Linked DNA regions of Homo sapiens: region 2 is linked to region 1. Evidence: promoter capture Hi-C in 16 types of primary human blood cells and fetal thymus (Javierre and others, 2016). All regions are on one chromosome and are shown on one strand. The core of a region is centred on a gene start or on the middle of the fragment in contact, and the rest is flanking DNA. Distances in the headings are between cores, read along the strand shown.

Region 1 (3,618 bases), core at 1-2,500:
CAGAGGCGCCAAGACCGGGCTGGAGGCCAAAGGAAACTGGGGGCGGGAGGTAGAGGCCGCGGCTCACATGCTCCCACCACTGGCCCCCGGAACAGCTGGACAGAGAATCTGTGTGCCCGGTCGCCCTCTGCCGCCCTCCTGCCGCCTGCCACACCCATCGAAAGCTGCTGCCTCAGCCCAGGGCAAATCTGAGCTGAGACCGGCGTGACCCTCCGGGCGGGAGCAGCAGCCACGCTACCGGAACCCCGCGGGCCTAACCCGGCTCCCTCCCGCCTACACCCCCATAGACCCCGGCCCGGCTTCAGGTCCCCTGCCCGCTCTTCGCGTCCTTGTCCTGTTCTCACGTCCCTCCTTCCTCCCTTCCCATCTCCATCACCGCCAGCAGATGACCTTGTCAAGGCTGGAAGGGACCGCAAAGATCCTCAGGTTAGAGGAGGAGATTAAGACCCAACCCGGGAAGACTGGGGGGTCCAAGGTCCTCGGCCCGCTCGCGCGCGGTCGGTCACCAGCCCCGGCTCACCCGAGTGTGCCCCCGGAGCCCACCTCCTGAAGCGCGCGCTCCTGCTCCAGCGGCACCAGCTCGTGGCCGCGGTGCTCCTGTGCGGCGCAGGCCTCGCACAGACACACGCGCTCCGCGCGGCAGTAGCGCTCGAGCGGCCGTAGGTGGCGCGGGCACAGGCTCTCCTCTAGCCGGCGCAGCGGCGGCACCAGGCGGTGTCCGCGGAGGGCGGGGCTGCGCTCGTGCGGGCCCAGGTGCGCGGGGCAAAAGGAGGCGAGGCAGGAGAGGCAGGACAGCGCGGCGGGCAGGGCCGCGCCCTCGGGGCACGCGTCGCAGCGCACTGGCTCTTCGCCCGCGGGCCACGGCTCGGGAGCGCAGGGGGCCGACGGCTCCGGGACACTGGGCAGCGCGCTGGGTGCCGAGGGCTCCGGGGCCAGGGCAGGGGCCGGGCCGGGGCCGGACCCGGGGCCCGAGCCCTGGCGGAGCTGCAGCAGCTCGGACAGCGTGTGGTTCTTGCGGAGCTGAAGGCCGTCGGGGAAGGGCTCCTGGCACAGCGGGCAGCGGGCCGCGCCTCCGGGTCCGCCGGCTCCACTCGCGCCACGATGCGGCCAGAGCGCGCCCAGGCAGGCGAGACAGAAGTTGTGGCCGCAGGGCAGCGTCACCGGCTCCCGGAGTGGCTCTAGGCAGATGGGGCAGCTGAAGGGTCCACTGCCGTCCATGACTCCGCGGCCGCCCAGGGCGCCGCCGATTGTGCTCCGGCCTGGGAGGGACCCGGGCCGTTCGCGCCGCGGCACCTCCCCCTGGGACCTAGGCCAGGGCTCCGGCCCCCGCCCGCCCCCAGCTCGGCCCGCCCCGCAGCACCGCCCGCCTGCGGGCCCGCGGACTCCCAGTCCCCGCCCAGACAACGCAGGGAGGCCTCCGAGCCCGCGCGACCCCCAGGGGAGTCCGCGTGGTCCTAAGGAAGGGCGCTGCTGAAAGGGTGTGAAACTGAGTGAGCGCGGGCGGAGAACGCGAGAGGTACAGTGGAAGGAATGGGAAGGACTCAGCCTCCATCCCTCTGGTCCTTCTGGGCCAGGCCAGCGCTCCGCAGGGGCTGGGCGCGTCTAGCTGTGTCATGCCTGCACCTTTGCGCTCGACCCCTCCCTGGCACCCTTAGCAAAGTTCCTGAGCTGCTGACTGCAGAGAAAAATAACTGCTGATGTACATATGTTTTTGCCCCTTAGCGACTCTTTTTTTTTTTTTTTTTGAGACAGAGTTCCTCTCTTGTCGCCCAGGCTGGAGTGCAGGGGCGCTATCTCGGCTCACTGCAACCTCCGCCTCCCGGATTCAAGTGATTCTCCTGCCTTAGCCTCCCAAGTAGCTGGAATTATAGGCGCTTGCCACCACACCAGGCAAATTTTTGTATTTTTTTGTAGAGACGGAGTTTCACCTTGTCCAGGCTGGTCTTGAACTCGTGACCTCAGGTGATCCACCTGCCTCGGCCTCCCAAAGTGCTGGGATTACAGGCGTGAGCCACAGCGCCCAGCTCCTTTAGCGACTCTTTACCCCAAGTAGGGAACTTGGACTTTTCTAGACCTGAAATGGGAAGTTGACGTCATTCCCTAAGTCCCTTGTCTGAGGAATGTAGTTCTGGCCCCTGGACACTGGGGACACCTGTGGTGGGGTTGGGGGTTCCCCAACTGGAAGTATTTAAAGCTCATCTAATTATGCACTTAAAGTGGTGCGTTTTATTGTATGAGTTATATCTCAATAATGTTAAGTTAAAACACTACACCAGAATGACAACAAAATAAGTAAAGTAGCACTGATTATAACCCAAAGTGTAAAATAAACATCTATGAGTCCATGCCGATATAAATAAATAATAAATTAACAAGCTGGGGAGAACAGACATATTTCGCATTGAAAATTCCAAATAATGTTTTTTTATTTTTATTTTTTTAGATGGAGTTTCGCTCTTGTCGCCCAGGCTGGAGTGCAGTGGCGCAATCTCAGCTCACTGCAACCTCTGTCTCCTGGGTTCAAGCGATTCTCCCTCCTCGGACTCTTGAGTAGCTGGGATTACAGGCGCCCGCCACCACATTTGGCTAATTTTTGTATTTTTAGTAGAGACGGGGTTTCACCATGTTGGCCAAGCTGGTCTCGAACTGCTGACTTCAGGTGATCCACCCGCCTCGGCCTCCCAAAGTGCTGGGATTACAGACATGAGCCACCGCACCCAGAGATATCTGTAATTTTGGTTAGTGACAAAGTCACAGGTAACTGCTCATACCACTCTGGTGTATTCTCTCCATTTGGAATAGAAAGAAATGCTGTGTTTCAGTAAGGTGCTGCAGCGTGGCTTCCTTCTGCAGGATCTGAGGGAGACTCTGTCCTGGGCGTCTGTCCCAGCTTCTGGTACTGGCTGGCAATTCTTGGCGTTCCTTGGCTTGTAGCTGTAAGATGCGCTCTAATATCAGTCTCTGTTGTCATTTGCCTTTTCTCTGTGTCTGTGTTCAAATGTCCTTTTTTTTTTTTTTTTTAGGGAGTCTTGCTCTGTTGCCCACTCAAACTGCTGGGCTCGAGTAATCTGCCTGCCTCAGCCTCCCAAAGTGCTAGGATTACAGGCGTGAGCCACTGTGCCCGGTGCCCATTTCCTCTTATCAGGACACCAGTTGTTGGATTAGGGCACGCTCTACTCCAGTATGCCCTCATCTTAACTCAGTCACATCTGAAAATACTCTATTTCCAAATAAGGTCACAGCCACAGGTCCTGGGGGTTAGGATCCGAATACGTCTTTTTCAGGGAACAGGATTCAACCTATAACAGTGCATAAGTAAGGAAATGTTGGAGAGAGGCCCAGGCCCAAATGTGCTAGAGGTCATGCATGTCCCCCGGTGTTCCTGGCCCTCTCTGTGTTCCAGGACCCTGGCCCTTCCCTAAACCTCAGCACACACTGCTGCTTGTCCCACACCCAAACCCTTGTCCACCTCTCCCACCGGGTCTGCATTCCTGCCTCTGTTTCCCCAGCTCTCTAGGCTTGGGGGGTGGGAAAATACCCTCAGGTCCCCTGAGACCAGACTAGAAATGTTCAGAAGGCACTTCATGAGTTCAGAGCTAAAGAGGAGAAAACACAAGC
Region 2 (3,589 bases), core at 772-3,271, 570 kb after region 1:
TGCTGCAGTCAAATGAGTTGCGTTCCAAAAATCACGAATCTCTCAAATAGATGGGTGGTGAAAAACATTCTTAAAAACTCACAGAAAGACACCAGCAATCATCTGGTGTCACACAGTATACAGCAATAACCCTCTTTTACTGACACAATACTGGGTAATTTTTAACAAGCATTCTGTTGCACAAAAGTAATATTTTCCAAATACTCTTGTAAATGGACTGATAATTTTCCTTCCAAGTCTCAGAGCTGTTGCCTGATTCACATTTCTCTGAGGGGAAGCAGGGTCCTGTGTGTGGATTTGTGTCTGTGGATGTATGTGCATCCCCAACAAAAAGACCCCGCTGGTATCAGCAGTCACTTCTGCCTCTAGGAAATGGATCATGTGCTCTTCTCTGGAGTGGGGCCTTTTTCCTTCTCAAGCCGTTGTCACAGACCCCGCTTTGTAGTTTGACATGAAACCCCGTTCCTCTGTAGTCTTTGTCTCCCACTGTGTGAGAAACCCAGATCAACTTCCAAAGTGCCCTCCCCTGAAATCAGACCTCTCAACCTCCCAAGGACCTAAAACAGCGTAGGCCTGATTCCTGCTTAGAAATGTTTTCTTGAAGGGGAGGGGAAGTAGGAGAGAAAGAAGGGGTGTGAGATACAGGGGGGTGTGTGTGTGTGTGTGTGTGTGTCAATTACTGATAGGAATTCACATTCTGGAAAACAAGCCACCAAACCAACCCGGGTTCAAGGTTTCGGGTTTATGATGACAAGCCTCTTTGTTTTGTAAAACTGCTATACTCACTAGCATCACCCCAAAAACCATACGGGAGTCAGATGTCTGCTTAACAGCTTCAGGTCAAGAAAAAACCTTCGGGTTTCCAAATTGGTGACTCCCCTCTACCCAGGGTTCTGGATTATTTTTTTCAAGGAGTCCATATGCACTTAGGAGTCATCAATCCCGGTCGCAGCTGTCAGAATCCTCCCCCCCAAGTACTATTCATACCGGGGCTCTGATTGCTAATGATTTTACTCACAAAGTTCCCTGCAGCAATTAAAAGGAGGCAGCAGGGTAAAACAAAAAGAGGCTGGGTGGCTTCACCATAATGCAGCCTGTAAGCTAGTGAACTTCTTGGGTTCGGCTGGGATTTTCACCTCTATCTTTGTTTTGGAATGCCCACAACCCCTCCCTGCACGGACCCGGCACGGCCTTCATTTCTGGATGCACAATGCAGTACCGAGCTCCTTGGGGGTCAGCAAAACGCCGCACTGGTGTAACGCCGAACGCGCCCCAGAACCTGAGTCCCCACGGGAGTCGGTCCACGTCTCTAAATCTCGAGGCCGACACCACAGCATAACATGTCTTAGAAGTCCCCTCAAGTCGGGAAGCCCAGGGCCCGCCCGGTCCCGGGCCAGCAGTGCCTGGCTGGCGTGTGCGCCCAGAGCTGCTGCAATGACTTTGCATGGAGTGTACCCTCCACTGGGGCTGTCCTCCCGCGTCGGCCACTGCAGTGGCACCGCTCCGGGCAGGGCCCTGCACGCCGTCCTTCCCTGGCCTCGGCCCGGCCGCCGACCCCCTGCCGCCCGCGCCGCCCAGCCCCCGCCCGCCGCACCTTGGTCTCCTTCACATGCTGCTTGACGCCCTCCGGGTACCACTGGACGCGCACGTAGCCGCGGCGCAGGGGGCTGGCCCGGCCCTCCTCGTGGCCCGCGCCCCCGGCCTCGGAGCACCCCGAGCTCCCGCGGCCCTCCTCCTCGCCCTCCGAGTCCGAGTCCTCGCCGTGGATGAGGCGCACCAGCCCGAAGTGCACGGAGCCACGGTAACGGCCCGACACCAGGTCGTGAGAAAACAGCAGGCGCTGCGAGCCGGCTTCTGGGCCGGAGTCCGAGGACGGCCCGGAGGCCGAGTCCGAGGCGGGCGCCGGCGCCGGGACGGGGGCTGCGGCTGGGGCCGGGACTGCCTCCGGGGCTGGAGCCGGGGCCTGGGCTGGAGCGGGAGCTGCGGGCGTGGGGGCTGCGGGATCCGCCATAACTGCTCTGCGCGAGTCTCGGGCGGCGGCGGCGACAGCGGCGGCGAACGAGGCGCGGGGAGGCGGGACCAGCGGGCGCCGGGGGCGGGGCCATAGCGCGCTGACGTGTCCCTGCGTGGCGCCGTCGTCAGGGAGCCGGGATGCAGTTGCTAGGAGCCACCGCCTCGTCGCTAGGGGACGCTGAAGATGCCGCGGGGGGCGGGGGCAGGATGGAATCCACTAAGAAGGGGCGAGACCAGTGAGGATTCAACTAAAGGGAGCGAGAAGGGGCGGGGACCCGGGAGGAGGAAGTGGAGTGGCCACCGAGGAAGAGGGGAGTGGTCGGGGTGGGGCACAGGATGGTGGAGAGACTGTCAACAACTTTTAATGAGCTCCCTTGGCGTCCTAGCCTAGCCCCCAGGCACTGGGAGCATTGCAGAAAGAGAAAGATACTGTCCCTGTCCTCTAGGTGTTTCCAGTCTAGTTGGGGAGACAAAACAAATACACATTAAATAGATAACAAACAACTCCAACTTGTAAGGCTATAATAGATACGTGTAGAGCATATGTATAATGCACTGTATTCAGGAATTCCAAGCAGTTCGAACGTCATGACCCCTCAGAAGTTGACCCAGAAGCTGGTGAAGGAGGCCCAGAGAAAGGTAACAAAAGGATCAGTGGTCCCAGTGGTTTGGCTACAAATCCATGCAGATAAATTCAAAGCTCCCTGAAGCCAAGAATGAATGGCAAGAGGTAGTATAGTAAGGTAGCTAAGAGTGGGGACCACGGATTCCAATTTTTGGCACTGCCACTTACTAATCTATAAAAATAGGCACACTGATTAACTTATTTTCATCTTAATTTGCTCATCTGTGAAATAGGGATGATAATAGCAATACTCATCTCATTGGGCAATTGGAGGATTAAGTGAAGTAGAACAGTGCCTGGCATTTAGCTCCTTCGATAAGCTTAACCATTGTTGTACTATTTCCAAACTCCCTGCCTAGACTAAATTCCAGACTGGCAGAACTGTTATGGTCTGCTCCATATTGTCATTTTAAAATATAAAAAGTAGGCCGGGCGCGGCAGCTCACACCTGTCATCCCAGTACTTTGGGAGGCTGAGGTGGGCGGATCACGAGGTCAAGAGATTGAGACCATCCTGGCCAACATGGCGAAACCCCATCTCTACTAAAAATACGGAAAAAAAAAAAAAATAGCTGGGCGTGGTGGCACATGGCTGTAGTCCCAGCTACTCAGGAGGCTGAGGCAGGCAAATCGCTTGAACCTGGGAGGCTGAGGTTGCAGTGAGCCCAGATCGCGCCACTGCACTCCACCCTGGGCAACAGAGCAAGACTCTGTCTCAAAAAAATAAATAAATAAAAATAAATAAAATATAAAAAGTAACTCTAGGGCCAGGCGTGGTGGCTCATGCCTGTAATCCCAGCACTTTGGGAGGCAGAAGCAGATGGATCACCTGATCACCTGAGGTCAGGAGTTCAAGACCGCCCTGGCCAACATGGCGAAATCCCTTCTCTACTAAAAGTACAAAAATTAGCTGGGCGTGGTGGTGTGCACCTGTAGTCCCAGCTACTTGGGA

Evidence for each region. Contacts are between HindIII fragments. The CHiCAGO score rates a contact against its expected background, and 5 or more counts as called.
Region 2: the fragment with the promoter of UBE2O here is called in contact with the fragment with the promoter of TRIM47 in region 1 in 7 of 17 cell types (naive CD8 T cells, non-activated CD4 T cells, activated CD4 T cells and 4 more); the score reaches 9.3 in naive CD8 T cells.

The regions. Positions count from the first base shown.
Region 1 is chr17:75,877,331-75,880,948 of GRCh38, forward strand. TRIM47 (tripartite motif containing 47) reads right to left here and starts at 1,251. Exons shown (of 6, transcript NM_033452.3): 1 at 544-1,251. The coding sequence starts at 1,218. It also overlaps a transcript of TRIM65 not described here. RefSeq lists enhancers at 1-625, 626-1,541 and silencers at 386-565, 576-955, 1,086-1,435. The HindIII fragment of the contact is 18,500 bases long and covers 1-3,618 here.
Region 2 is chr17:76,451,131-76,454,719 of GRCh38, forward strand. UBE2O (ubiquitin conjugating enzyme E2 O) reads right to left here and starts at 2,022. Exons shown (of 18, transcript NM_022066.4): 1 at 1,595-2,022. The coding sequence starts at 2,011. It also overlaps a transcript of AANAT not described here. RefSeq lists silencers at 1,374-1,573, 1,694-2,233, 2,028-2,196. The HindIII fragment of the contact is 7,923 bases long and covers 1-2,956 here.